Regions from separate parts of the Homo sapiens genome. Here regions 2, 3, 4 and 5 are each linked to region 1. The links are contacts of gene promoters, found by promoter capture Hi-C in blood cells and fetal thymus (Javierre and others, 2016). All regions are on one chromosome and are shown on one strand. Each heading gives the region's core, a stretch centred on a gene start or on the middle of the fragment in contact. The rest is flanking DNA. Distances are from core to core; before and after follow the strand shown. Region 1 holds the start of CCAR2 (cell cycle and apoptosis regulator 2). Region 2 overlaps PEBP4 (phosphatidylethanolamine binding protein 4). Region 3 overlaps PEBP4 (phosphatidylethanolamine binding protein 4). Region 4 holds the start of PEBP4-AS1 (PEBP4 antisense RNA 1). Region 5 has its middle 6.8 kb from the start of PEBP4.

Region 1 (2,700 bases), core at 130-2,629:
GAGGAGTGAGCAAACCAGGAGGAGGGCCCAGAAGAGATGTTGAAGCTGTGCCTATGGGGAAAGAGAAGCAATCTCCAGGAACCGCCCCTACCACCTTAAGCACGAGTCAACCAAAGGATGTGGTAAATCCAAAGGCTACAGCTCCAGCCAGCTCCTCCACAGAGCTTCACTGGCAATCACTGTGGGCATCTCCTGCTTTCCAGAGGAACATCAGCAGCAAATTGCTCTCCACCAGGGAAACCCCAAACTAACTCCAGAGCACATACTTCCCAGGATGAGGCCAGGTAGGGAGAACAGTGATCACCTGAGAAGTTGCGTCCCCCTGGAAGCGGGTTGATCCGCTGGCGCTTAAACTGGGACATTGGGAACGCTGTCCTCTTTCAGAGTCGTGGGGAAAAGGCTTCAATCCAAAAAGAAAGAAATTAACAGCTTATAAGGGAAATTTCCATCTATACCCGGAAAAGTGGAGAATCTTAAGTAAGGATATTTCGGAAAACAGGGAGGTGGGTAATAAGAATGAATGAAAGCAATGGATGGAGAGAATATAGAGAAGAAAGAAATGAAACAAGAAATTACATTGTTCCAGTTTGCCCTGACAATAACCTAGTGGTGCATGATACTGTCATGCTGTTTTACAGACAAGGAAACTGATGCTCAGAGAGATCAAGAGACTTGCCCGGGGCCACATAACCAGGTAGTGACAAAACTGCTACTCACACCCAGGCCTCCCAACAACTTAGCGCTCCTCTCACTATGCCACGCCACCCCCAGAGTAGCTGGCGGGGTGAGGGGCTCGAGAGAGCCCCGATGACATTCCTTCGTTCAAAAACATCCGCCAAAACCCTCCACGCAAGGCCCGGAAAAATGGAGGAGGCCGGTGCCGGCGAGGAGACTGTGTGGGCCCTCTCCCCGGAAGCCCGACCCGTTGTTTCCTCGACCGGCTGGTGGGAAGGCAGCTCCCTGGCCGACCAAACGCGAAACCGGCTGCGCGCCACCCTCCTGCTCCCACGCTCCCGGGCCCTCCGCTCCGGCCTCAGCAGCCGCCAGCGCCGGGTCTCCCAGCAGAGCCGCGGCGAGGCCACCAAGGGAGGACTGAGGCGCGCGGTTTCTCCTCCTCCCGCCCGCCCCCAAGGCCGAGGCCGTTGCCAGGGAGACGGGACTTGCAGTCCAAAGAGGGGCTCGGCCCCTTCCGCGCCCCACGCATCTTCGCCGCCCGGCCCTCGCAGCCCCTCGGCCAGCGGAGGGGCGGAGGGGCGAAGGGGCAGAGGGGCGGCAGGGGGCCCCCCAACCCACCTGCGGGCCAGGGCAGCGACACCGGGGGGACAAAGACACCCGGAACCACCACAGCCGCTGCTGCCGCCGCCACCGGAAGCGCCTCTCCGGAAGCGCGACCACTGGTCGGAAGCTGCCGCTCTCCCGGATATGGTCCCTCCCTCGTCTCCGCCGACCTCTCCCTTCCCCCACGCCGGCTTGCCATCCCGCGGCAACTGGGGAGCGGAAGTGCGCCTTCCCGGATCGGATGCGCGTCAGGAAGTCGCGCCTCGGTAGTGTCCTCGCTAAAGAATCCCATCAGGAAAGAAGGCTTCGGATCATTGGTTCCGGGCTCAAAGGAAGCGGGAGCTGGGCCCCCCAAACACAAGGGACCCCCGACTGCCTACCACGCTCGCCTCCCTCTGGCAGTCGAGACTGCAACAGATAAGGAAACCAGCCCCTCCTGACTGGAGGAGAAGGATGCCTATCAGTGACCATTTCTAAGAGACATTCCTGGTCTGACTCAAGCCAGTGACCACCATGCCTAGCCAGTCAGGAATCAGTGCCCTAATTCTCAAATATGAAATCTAAGAGGCCTCAATGAAATGACCTGCTCAAAATCTTGCCAGGAGACTGGCCATTTTAGTCCCCATTAGCAATCCCAGCCCCCCCTTATCCTCCGACCTCCCCATCATCACTCCAGCCTTACTTTCCCCTTTCCTATTCACCTGAGGTTTACAAAGCACTTTGAGGCAGTTTAATCTCACTTTATCCTCATAACAAGTCTGTGAGGTAGATAGGGCAGGCATCATTATTCCCAGCGGGAAGCTGTGGCTCAGAAAGGTTGACTTGGGGTCTAAAAACTAGTACAGGCATCTGGTTTGAATTAAGACCTGTAAACGCTAGTACGGAGCAGAGAAGCTGAGCACTGGCTTTGAAAGTTATTCAGTTCCCAGGTTGTCCCTGATCTTCCTCATTCCTTGTGCAGTCTTCAGGAGTCCGGGGCAAGATTCCATGCAGAGGCAGCCAAAGCCACACCGTTCTCTGTCCCAGGGCTGCCAGCATGGCTCTGAGGAGGAAAGCTCAGTAACTGCCCACTGGGGAATAAAGGTCAGTTCCATCCTTCTGCAGTGACCTCCCCCAGAATATCAACCCTTTGGATGCATTATTTCAGAAGAGATGGTTGGATCCAGCCAGCTTGCAACACTGACAGTCACACAGAGATATGCATACCATTGCGCATAAATACACATCTGCAACATGCTGGGCCCAGACAGGTCACCATGCCAAAAACACTCCACGGACACCTGACAATGAGTGAGTTCACATTGTGGAAGCCCAGGGATTTCTGGTGAGGAGGAAGAGCCCTGGAGCTGCGGCATCTTGGGGGCCTCTCAAGAAACCAAGGTTCCTGACCAGACTGCTTAGAGGAGAAAGATTCAGCCCTCG
Region 2 (2,700 bases), core at 178-2,677, 290 kb before region 1:
GTGAGGTGGAAGGAACCCCATCACTGGGATGAGGAGGGGAGATCAGGGAAGACTCCCCTTAGCCTGAGGATGGCTCTGAGCAAACACGTTGGAGCCTGGATAATACCCCACTGAACACTGCAACTATCGGTTAAAGGAGCCATTGGAGTAAGAATTGATAGGTCAGCGGGAGCAAAACTCAACCATTCCTGATTAATTAGTATTACCGTGGCCTATGTATTTCTCTAGTTCAGATCTTCATCAGATCACACTCCAGCTATGACAGTGATTGTCCAAGCTCCATTCCCTGTCTCTCCTCCCAGACTAGGACATCTTCTTCTTCTGGGTTCCCACATCATTCTAGGTTCCAGTGGCACTTTTCTTACTTGATGCAAGGATGTGGGATTTGGGAACATGGTTTCATCTCTCCAACCACAATACCAGCAACTTTCAGGCAACTGTCTGATGCCACACAGCAAATCTGCCCCAGGGCAGAGGGGGCAGTAGGTAGGCAGTAACTGGGAGCACAGGCAGAGAGGCTGGCATGAAGAAACCTGCCCATGGGAAGCAGGGCCAATGCCACCTAGGCTGGGTTCAAGGATGTGGCCAAAAAAGCAGAACTTCCGACAAACTTGGAAAACTAGTCAGGTTACTGAAACAGGAACTTAAGCTTCTCAGCAAATTAGACGTAACATATAAACTGGAAAAATCAGTGAACTTGAAGATAGAGCAACAGAAATGATCTAAAGAAATATAAAGAGAGAAAAGAAGGCTGGGGGACAGAACAGAGCACCCAAGCATTGTGAGACAACATAAAATGGTCTAACATATGTATAGTTGGGATCTCATTAAGAAAAGAGAGCAGAGTAGAACTATTTGAAGAGATAATGACCAAGAACTTGTTAAAGAAAGGCAACATACCACAAGTCCAAGATACTCAGAGAACCTTAATCAGAATTTTTAAAAAAATCCACCTAGATGTGTCATGATCAAACTGCTAAAAACCAAAGATAAATTCTGAAGACAACCAAGGAAAACAGAATGCCGGTGTCCCCCTCACCAAAGCATGTCTAAATGCTTGTGAAGAAAGTATGTTCTCCTGGGACAGAGTGAAGGAGGGTATGTGGGGAACACATGTGTAAGCCCACCCCAACATTATTATGCCTCTCCAGGTATTAAGATTCCTTGCTTTATATCAAGGAACTTCTGTCACCTTAGCTTTATTTAGTATAGGATGCCATTCAGTTCAGGTTTCATTTCAGATAACCCACTGAGTGAACAGAACCATACCCAGATGATCCAGCCAGTACTTTGGATCCAGAATCCATATTGATCAATATGGCCCAATTGAAAATGATCTTCTTTCCTCCGTGATCAGCACCTTACTATACATTTCTCAGATTTCTGCCAATAAATATTAAAAAACAAATGGCACCTACTTTGGTGTGAAAGTCTACTGTTTCAGAATCAGACTTTGTGCTTGTCTCCCTTGGCCATGCTGAAATCTGATTCTAGAATAGGTCAGGAGCAGCCAGGGGTGGTAAGTGTCGACCTCAGGGAGAATCAGGATTCTCTTGCAAGACAGGACCTGGGGAAAAGGGGCAGCTTCTGCTGGAAAGGGAGGCTCAGCAGGGTCTAAGACTCAGTTATATGAATTCAGCATCCCCATTCACAGGGTTCCATCTTTCCCAGTCAACACCATCTCCCATAAGAGACCTGATGAGGCTGTGAACTTAACTTAGGTTGTAATTCTACAACCTGCTGGGTCAGACTTCACTTCTGATTTCAGTTTTGTTGGCCCTGAAACTACAAACCGTGGGAGATTCTTTCAGGATAGTCTTAACTGTTCCTTGCTCTTCTGATTGAGCCTTGAGCCAAGAATTTATTACTATTTTATTTTATTTTTAGAGACAGGGTCTCACTCTGTTGCCCAAGCTGGAGTGCAGTGGCATGATTACGGTTCACTGCAGCCTTGACCTCCTGGAATCAAGCAATCTTCCCACCTCAGCCTCCTGAGTAGCTGGGACTACAGGCACATGCCACTATGCTTGGAATTTTTTTTATTTATTTTTTATTTTTTGTAGAGACAGGGTCTTACCATGTTGCCTGGGCTGGTCTCGAACTCCTGGGCTGAAGCCATCCATCTGCCTTGGCTTCCCAAAGTGCTGGGATTATAGAGTGAGCCACTATGCATGGCTGTGCCAAGAATTTAAACCTCAAGCTTCTAACCATTTTTCTTTACTTTTCCCACTTCTGGCAGAAGAAGTCATCTTATTCCAACATCTTTATATTCATCATTCTGACATAATAATCTATCGTGCAATTCCGCCAAACTCTTATCTTCAATGGGTACTTTGTTCTAGGTAATCACACTTGATAATCAAGATTATTTTGCTACTATATGCCGCGGGCTGCCAGTGACACATTTGCTAATGGTAACCTGTGCTCTCATCTTCACTGGTTTTAAGCAATTTGATTGTGATGTGTTTGGTGTAGTTTTCTCATGTGTCTTGTGCTTGGCATTTCTTTGGTTGGGCTTCTGGGATCTGTGGGTTTACAGTTTTCATCAAATTAAGACATTTTTCAGCCATTATGTCTTCTAATATTTTTTCTAATATTCCCTAAAAGGGAATTTTAGGGACTCCTATTGCATGTATATTTGGCTACTTGAAGATGTCCCACAGCTCACTGATATGCTATTCTGGTGGGTTTTTTTCAGTC
Region 3 (2,700 bases), core at 141-2,640, 310 kb before region 1:
AGCATTTTAGGAACTGGAAATAACTATTTTACTGGGCAGTGATTAGTGCTATTACATTTAGGGGTCTGGAAAGCCTGGGGAAGAGTCATAGAAGTGGGAAATGGGTCTGCTGCTGCCCTAAGCAGCCAGAGTGTGTTTTGGGGAAGCTGATCTGGCCTTCTGGTCTCCGCTTCTTTATTTCTTGACTCCTGGGCCAGACTGAGCCCGCAGAGTGTCAATGGTGGAGACTGGCCTCTTTTCTGCTGTGTTTTAGAAGGAGGTGCTGCTGTCAATCTAGGCAGGACTTGGGTCACAAATGCCTGGAGATGGAAGGGTCGTGGCCGGGATGTGACCAAGCACACACACCAAGGCTGACCTTCTGGTCCTTTCTGTGCAGGGTGGCAGGGAAGGGCCACAAGGGGTTCTTCCTTCCCCTCAGTGCTGCCTTGGTTAGGCCTCATGCAGTCAGCTAAGCCCAGTAGGACAACAAGCTCCAGAGGGCGGCAGCACACAAGTTACTCCAATGCGGGGAATAGACTCTTCTCTTTGAAGTGTTTTTCACTATCAGAGAGCAAATAGATTGTGATATGGCTCGCAAGTTATGAGGCTGTTGTCATGAAGCTTTGCTAGGTTGTCTTGTTTGCAAACACGACAAACACCCTTTCCTTTGGGAAGACGAGCAATAAAGTGCACACGTGCACATGTGTGCACATGTGCACACACACACTTGCATGCACACCCATGTGCACACAGCGTCAGCCCTCTTCCCTGGAAACCCTTGGACTGGGCACACCTGTGGACAGCCAAGAGGAGCAGAGAAAGGAAGCCTGCTGATTCTAACTCCTGGGATGGGAGGTGCAGAGGCCGGGCAGGAACCCAATCTTTTAGAGGAGTATATGCTACTCTGCGGGACAGGACTCTCGGCTTCACCATCCATTCACTTGTCTTGGGGTTTGTCCCTTATGTAGTGAGGGTCAGTCGGATGCTTTCACAGGCCAGGGACAGTCCCAAGGGAATTCTCCCCAAAGGGCTCCCTTCCGCGTGCTGATGATGCTGCAGACATCCACTAGATGGCAGTGTAGACTTTTCTGAGCACCTGGTGTCCTCCAGAGCAGGGATTTGAAGCCTGTTGGGAAAGTCTTTGGTTTGATTTGGTTTCGTTGCCCTGGCTTATCAGCACATTACACAAAGACGACATCACCCACGCCACATCCTGAAGTCTTGTACTGTTAAACCCATCCTGCCTCAGCCCGGGGGTGGGGTGGGGAGAAAACGGATGTGGAACATAGAGATTTATGAGGAACACAGAGCTGTGGTCAAGAAAGCCTGGGAGAGTGAAGATTTTACAAAGGAAGATTTGATCGAAGCTGTGGGAAGAAGAAAAACATAGTATTCTACTACTATGGAACTATAGTTTATGGAAATGTAACAGACCTATGAGAAGGCAGATTCAGAGAGATTTGCCAAAGTGGTCAGTGAGTGCCACCTTATTCCATTCCTGGGCACTACTCGGACCTTTCATTTAAGTCTCCAAGTTAAGTATTTCTTTCATCAAGACTATTAATGGCATGTGACAAAAAGTCAACTCAAATCGGCTTAAGCCAGAAAAGAGGGGGAAACATTGGTTCACAAAACTGAAAACTCCAGGGATAACTTCAGGCGAGGCTGGATCCAGGTGCTCAGTGTCACCAGGAATCTGTCTCTTGATTGTTTTTTTCTGTGCTGTTTTCATTTGTAAATAGAGTCTTCCCTTGTGACAAAGATGGCCCCAACAGCCTTAGGTTTGTGTTTGACCAATTTGTCAACCCCAGTGGAAATAGGGTTTTCCATCCATTAAAAGTCACAGGATTGGTCTCGCTTTGGTCTTGTGCCTATCCCTGAACCTAGCAGTGACCCTCTACAGCTCCCCTTAATCTACAAGGACTGAGAGTAGAGGAGGATGGTTGCCCTGAATGCAAGTCAAGGTGTGATTGATCAGATAAGGGTGAAAGGATGTTAGGTAGGAAATGCAAGGCAGGTCCTATGGAAGTGAGTAATCTGGCCAAGTACAGAGCTGAAAGGTGCCAGAGCCAGAGTCAAAGCCAGGTCTGCCCAACTCCAGAGCCCATGGGCCTGGCCAGTGGGCCACTGGCAAGGGCTCTAAGGGAGACACCAGGGGGCGCTGGCACAGGCAGGGGTGGGCTGGCCGAAGGGAAGCTTTCCCTGGTTAGAATGGAAGGGGGTGGGCAGGAAGGATAGTTCTTCCTAGGGAAGGTGGTAGTTGGAGCTTCCCTTAAGGGAGAGGGCATGACTGGTGAGGCTGGAGGAGCAAGTGCTACCTGGGTCCCTCAAGAAAAGGGTGCGGGGAGCCTGAGTGTTTAGGACAGAGAAGAGCATGAAGGTATTTCTTCTGGGCCTGATGGAGAAGGGCACGAGTTGGTGACTGCTATGTGGGGATGGTGCATTGCTTCCAAGGTGACTGAAGCAATGCCACCAAAGCAGTGACTGCCATTGGACATGCCTGGGAACACCCCCCCCTCCCCCGCCCCCAGCAAACTCCAAAGCCCTGGAAAGAGGGGTGCAGCAGTGCCTCTGTGCCCACCATAGAGCTTCCCACCTCCATATTCTGGCATTGGCCACTTCCCCATCCTTGGCGTCTTTGGACCCTGCTCCCGTCACAATGCTTCCTCCTCTAGGAAGCCTTCCCTGACTGCCTCCCTCTGGGCTCCACCTACATCCCTG
Region 4 (2,700 bases), core at 96-2,595, 270 kb before region 1:
GTTCCCACCTCTGGGGCGCTCACGGCCTGGTGGGATAGGCAGTCCAGAAGCAGACATGTCGCAATGCAATATGTTGAGTGCTGTTCTGTCAACATTGAGAGCGTTGAGGCCACACTCTCGTTCTGTGGCCTCACACAGATCAGTTAAACCTCCATGTCTGGTCTTCATCGTCACTGGGGATATTTGCTTCCCTTCCTAGCTGAGATCTATTCACTGTGAGTGGGCTCTGAGATGAGATTAGGATAGAGCATAGTAAAATGTTTCCCATGGGGAAGGGCTTGTCCTCTCTTTCAGTCTCTAAAGAGATGAAGGAACACAGAGGAGATACCACCCGCCCCATAGCCACGCTAAGCTGGGAACAAGAACTATAATTTTTAGCTCATCCCCCTACCCGGTGCTCTGTGATAAGAAACCAGCCCAACATCATTCTGGATGCCCTCTTCCAGCCTCCAGGGTCTGCCCGTGGTGGCTTAACTGTGATGACAGTTAAAATGCAAGAATACTTTCAAAAGGAGGGCTATTTTCCCCTTGGCATCCAGCTTGGCCTAGACATCCAGTTTGCTCTCTGTTCCCTGAGCTCCAAGCCTCCTCTCTGATGAAGCCAGGGAATGCACCCCTGTTTGGAGATCCTGTGCTCTGCCGACTTGCTCAGGCTGGCCAGTAGCAGAGTCCGAGTGAGCATCCCAGAGGAAGGAGGCCAGAGTACCCAAACCCAGAGGTGCCAGGCCCGGAGAGGGAAGCCCTCCCCACCTGTCTGCGCTTTGTGATTAGATATGAGCAATAGGGTAACTCACAGGCAGCAATCTCAGTCACTTGGTGTGTCAGGTAAACTGACGGGCAGAAAAGTGAGAAAGCACCACTTGGAAACCCAAGGCCACTGCCACACGGCCGGGTCCTGCCACCTCTCAGAGCCCTCCCACTGAGCATGCACTGACCCTCCACCCTCTCCCGCAGAGCCCATGCTGGTCTGACCTGCAGGATGTGTTTTCCGTAGAGGCCCCCAAATACCATCTTACCAGGCCAGTCCCCTACTATATTCTCTAACCTTAAATTCCAGGGATTCCGCCCCTCCCTCCCTCCCTCCCTCCCTCTCCCCCTCCCTCTCCATGCTCACCCTCCACCCCCTTTCCCTCAGGAGCTGCTCCTGTACCTGGAGTAGATTCACCTGCAAACACTCAGCTTGCAGGAGCACAGCAGACTGGGGAGTTTCCTTTCCCAGCCAAGCTGAGTTTGGAGGGGGGTGTGGGAGGAGGTGGGGAGGGCTGGGGACACAGGTTGAGTCTCTAAAGAATGAGGACTGCATTGCCTTCTTCCCTGCCTCCTGGTTACAGCTGAGAAAGTAACCAACTTCGTGTGTGTCTGTGTGTGTGTGTGTGTGTCTGCGCACGCGTGTGCAGTGTATGGATGCACAGACGGCCCCTCCATGGTGGGGTGGGGAGCCGTTCTCTCACCCTGCAGCTTTCTGCCTCTCCCTCCACCCTCCTCCGACTCCCTGCGTCCCACACTGCAGGTGTCTCTGAGGCAGTGTTTATGTAAGCAGCTCATGTTCTGCCGAGCGACAGCGAGAAGCTGTTGTCAATTCGAGGAAAGCCCCCGGCTGCCCACATGTGTGGTTGTCCCCGTGGGTTTCATAACAGGAGGGGGAGGTGGGGAGGTGGGGTGGTGGGCCCCTGGGGTGAGGGTGGCTGGGCTCAGCCCAGCCCAGGAGCCTCCTCCCCGCTGCCAACAGTGAGCCCGCCCGTGTGTTCACAAGCTGCTGGCCTCACCTCCTCTCCTCCCAGCTAGTTTCCCAGCCATTTGGCTACGGAGAGACAAAGTCAGTGCCTCCTGGCTCTGGCTGGCTCTGCCCAAGAATGTAGTACTTGGGTCGTGCTGGGCTACTGGAGTCAGGGCAAATAACCTGACATTTTGAAGGCACAAAAGTCCCAAGGACCTGCCAACCAACCAGGAGGTTGGTTTGATTCTGACCTCAGAATCAAAACATGGACCTGACGTTTTGATTCACAATAAGGACACGTAGCCCCATCATCTTTCTATTCCAAAGTCAGCTGTCCTCACCTGGACAACTGAGGACAGGGAGAGACTGGACAAAAAGGGCTCTTAGCCATTACAGTAGAAATGGCTGGGACACCTTATCCCTGAGGCTGAGGGCTGTTTGAGGATTCCCATTCAGCACAGCCTGGTTTGAGGAGGAAAGAAAAGACCAAAACATGGTGTCCACTTGATATGTTTATAAGGGTGGAATAAACTCCCTGAAACCCAAATCATAATTCAAATAGCTAATATATATGGAGTGCTTTTCTGATCCAAGCATCATGCTATGAAATGTACATTTCAGTCCTGGCAAAGACTTAATGAAGGAGGCACTATTAGCCTCATTTTAAAGATAAGGGTCCAAGGCCCAGAGAGGTTGAATAACTAGTCCAGCCTCACACAGCAGTTAAGGGAGAGGTTCTCCTTTCTACCCTGAACATTAACAGAAATGTGTTTACATTTTCTGGCTAACCAAGCCAGATTTTGGCTTTGCTCCAAGGAAGCTAATGTCCCACCTGAGAAGTAGCTTTGTTTAAACAGTGGAGAAAATAATTCCTAACTCATTTATTTACTTCTAATTTTACACTTCAAGTGCTGTTTATTTTCACAACAACACAAGCGCTATAAACATACACTGTCATCGATGAAGCACGTTTGTGAGGTGCC
Region 5 (2,700 bases), core at 36-2,535, 330 kb before region 1:
TTTCTGCTAGCTTTGGGTTATCTTGTTCTTTTTTTTTTTTTTCCCTAGCTCCTTAAGGTGTAAATTTAGGTTGTTGATTTGAGATCCTCCTTCTTTTTTAATATAAGCATTTACAACTTCTCAATGTAAGCTTTTATAGCTATTTTACAGCATGTACAGCTTTCACTGCATCCCATACATCTTGGTATACCAGTTGTTTCCCTTATCGAAAACACTTGGGACAAGAAGTATTTCAAATTTCAAATTTTTCAGATTTTAGAATATTTGCATATATGAGATATTTTGGAGATGGGACCTAAGTCTAAACATGAAATTTATTTATGTTTATATATACCTTATACACAGCCTAAAGATAGTTTTATACAATATTATTAATAATGTTGTGCATAAAACAAAGTTTTGACTGTGACCCATCACATGAGGTCAGGTGTAGGATTTTTTCACTTGTAGTATTCCATAGGCCTTCAAAGTTTTAAATCTTGAAGCATTTCAGAATTCCAATTTTTGGCTTAGGGATGTATTGTGTTTTTTGTTTTTGAGACAGTCTCACTCTGCTGCCCAGGCTGGACTGCAGTGGAGCGATCTCAGCTCACTGCAACCTCTGCCTCCTGGGTTCAAGCAATTCTCCTGCCTCAGCCTCCCAAGTAGCTGGGATGGGACTACAGGTGCCTGCCACCATGCCCAGCTAATTTTTGTATTTTTAGTAGAGACATGGTTTCTCCATGTTGGCCAGGCTGGTCTTGAACTCCTGACCTCAAGTGATCCACCCACCTCGGCTTCCCAAAGTGCTGGGATGACAGGTGTGAGCCACCATGCCCAGCCAGTCTCCCATTTCTTTAATTGGTCTTCTGCCTAGTTGTTCTATTCACTATTAAAAGTGGAGTACTGAAATTTCCAATTACTGTTGTTAAGCTACCTATTTTTCCCTTCAATTCTATCCTTGTATGCTTATATATTTTGGATCCCTGATGTTTGGTGCATATAGGTTTATAACTGTTATATCTTCTTGATGAATTGATTCTTATCAATATACAATGCCCTTCTTTTTCTCTTGTAGAACTAGACTTTAAAATCTGTTTTGTCTGATATTAATATAGCCATCCCTGTTCTCTTTTCGTTACTGTGTACATCTTTTTAAATCCTTTCTCTTTCAATCTATTTGTGTCCTTAGAGCTAAAGCAAGTCTATTGTGGACAGTATATAATTGAATCATTTTTAAAAAATCTAATCTGCCAGTTTATAACTTTTGACTGAGGCATTGAACCCAATTAAATTTAAATTTAAATCCATTTACTGATAGACAATGACTCAATGACTTATTTTGCCATTTTGTTATTTGTTTTCTGTATGTTTTAGCTCTTCTTGCTTGCTTGCTTGCTTGCATTCTTAAGAGATGGGGTCTCACTATGTGGCCCAGGCTGGCCTCAAACTCCTAGGCTCAAGTGATCCTCTCACCTCAGCCTCCCAAGCAGCTGGAACTACAGGCATGTGCCACTGCATCTGGCTGCTTTTCAGCTTTTTGTGTTCCTCATTTCCTCCATTTCTACCTTTCTTTACATTTAGTTGATTTTTTTTGTAGTGACATGTTTTATTCACTTCTCATTTCCTTTTGTGTATATTCTATAAATACATTTTGTGGTTACCATGGGAATTACATATAACATCCTAAAGTTATAATGATCTAATTTGAATTGATACTAACTTAACTTCAATTGCATACAAACATTTTACTTATACAGCTCCGTGCCCCCCATTTTGTGTTACCGATGTTAGAGTTTACATTATTATATACCCACTAACAAAGATTTATAATTATTTTATTCATTGTCTTTAAATCCTGTGCTATAATTTAGATATTTGTGCCCCGCAAAACTCATGTTGAAATTTGATCCCCAATATTGGAGGTGGGGCCCAATGGGTGGTGTTTGCATCTTGGGGGCAGACCTTTCATGAATAGAATGCAGTTCCAGGGGAGTGCATTCTCACTTTATTAGTTCCATGAGAACTGGTTGTTAAAAAGAGCCTGGCACCTCCCATTTCTCATTCCTGCTTTCTATTTCACTGTGTGATTTCTGCACACTCCAGCTTCCCTTTCCCTTCTAAAATGAGTGGGAAAAGGCTGAGGCTTTTACCAGATGCCCAGTCTTCCGGCCAGCAGAATTGTGAGCCAAATAAACCTCTTTATCAATTATCCAGCCTCAGGTATTCATTTATAACAGCACTAAATGGACTAAGACATCCTGTATTTAAAAGTGGAATTACAAACCAAAATTCCAACAATACTGGCTTTTTAATTTGCTGTGTGTTTACCTCAAACAAAGATCTTGATATATTTCTTCACCTAGTTTCAGCTTACTGTCATCTTTTCATTTCAACCTGAAGATCTACTTTCAGCATTTCTTGCAGGGCAGTGCTGGTGGTAATCAACTCCCTAAGCTTTTGTTTATCTGGGACTTTCTTAATTTCTCTCTTACTAATATTTTGGAAGATACTTTTGCTGGACATAGAATTCTTAATTGACAACTTTTCTTCTTTCAGTACTTTATATCATCCCAATGCCCCCTGGGCTTCAAAGTTTCTGCTGATAAATTGGCTGATAATTTTATTGAGGATCCCTATACATGATGAGTCTTCTCTCTTATTGCTTTCAAAATTCTCTCTTTGTCTTTGGCTTCCAACAGTTTGATTCTAATATGTCTC

What was found. The method cuts DNA at HindIII sites, captures the fragments that hold promoters and counts their contacts. A CHiCAGO score of 5 or more calls a contact.
Region 2: a contact is called between a fragment that was not itself captured here and the fragment with the promoter of CCAR2 in region 1, in 6 of 17 cell types (M0 macrophages, endothelial precursors, M1 macrophages and 3 more). The highest score is 8.6, in M0 macrophages.
Region 3: a fragment that was not itself captured here is called in contact with the fragment with the promoter of CCAR2 in region 1 in 16 of 17 cell types (endothelial precursors, fetal thymus, naive CD4 T cells and 13 more); the score reaches 20.9 in endothelial precursors.
Region 4: the fragment with the promoter of PEBP4-AS1 here is called in contact with the fragment with the promoter of CCAR2 in region 1 in 3 of 17 cell types (M2 macrophages, M0 macrophages and endothelial precursors); the score reaches 5.7 in M2 macrophages.
Region 5: a fragment that was not itself captured here is called in contact with the fragment with the promoter of CCAR2 in region 1 in 1 of 17 cell types (endothelial precursors); the score reaches 8.4 in endothelial precursors.

What each region holds. Positions count from the first base shown.
Region 1 is chr8:22,603,436-22,606,135 of GRCh38, reverse strand. CCAR2 (cell cycle and apoptosis regulator 2) reads right to left here and starts at 1,379. Exons shown (of 21, transcript NM_001393997.1): 1 at 1,294-1,379; 2 at 305-400; 3 at 1-51. The coding sequence starts at 362. C8orf58 (chromosome 8 open reading frame 58) reads right to left here. Exons shown (of 7, transcript NM_001013842.3): 7 at 1,994-2,700. It overlaps LOC107986876 (a long non-coding RNA gene), which reads left to right and starts at 1,136. Exons shown (of 1, transcript NR_160769.1): 1 at 1,136-2,700. RefSeq lists silencers at 962-1,021, 1,082-1,381 and enhancers at 1,045-1,545, 1,552-1,661. The HindIII fragment of the contact is 4,257 bases long and covers 1-2,700 here.
Region 2 is chr8:22,893,768-22,896,467 of GRCh38, reverse strand. All of the region lies in intron 3 of PEBP4 (phosphatidylethanolamine binding protein 4), which reads left to right. LOC124901907 (a long non-coding RNA gene) reads left to right here. Exons shown (of 2, transcript XR_007060854.1): 2 at 1-1,417. Among named protein-coding and RNA genes, the nearest start is that of PEBP4-AS1, 17 kb to the right of the region's middle. The HindIII fragment of the contact is 1,551 bases long and covers 652-2,202 here.
Region 3 is chr8:22,916,925-22,919,624 of GRCh38, reverse strand. The region is part of intron 3 of PEBP4 (phosphatidylethanolamine binding protein 4); the gene reads left to right. Among named protein-coding and RNA genes, the nearest start is that of PEBP4, 9.6 kb to the left of the region's middle. RefSeq lists an enhancer at 1-79. The HindIII fragment of the contact is 1,575 bases long and covers 603-2,177 here.
Region 4 is chr8:22,876,617-22,879,316 of GRCh38, reverse strand. PEBP4-AS1 (PEBP4 antisense RNA 1) reads right to left here and starts at 1,345. Exons shown (of 4, transcript NR_125433.1): 1 at 1,166-1,345. All of the region lies in intron 3 of PEBP4 (phosphatidylethanolamine binding protein 4), which reads left to right. RefSeq lists a silencer at 1,693-1,762. The HindIII fragment of the contact is 10,906 bases long and covers 1-2,700 here.
Region 5 is chr8:22,933,361-22,936,060 of GRCh38, reverse strand. It overlaps a transcript of PEBP4 not described here. Among named protein-coding and RNA genes, the nearest start is that of PEBP4, 6.8 kb to the right of the region's middle. The HindIII fragment of the contact is 2,306 bases long and covers 133-2,438 here.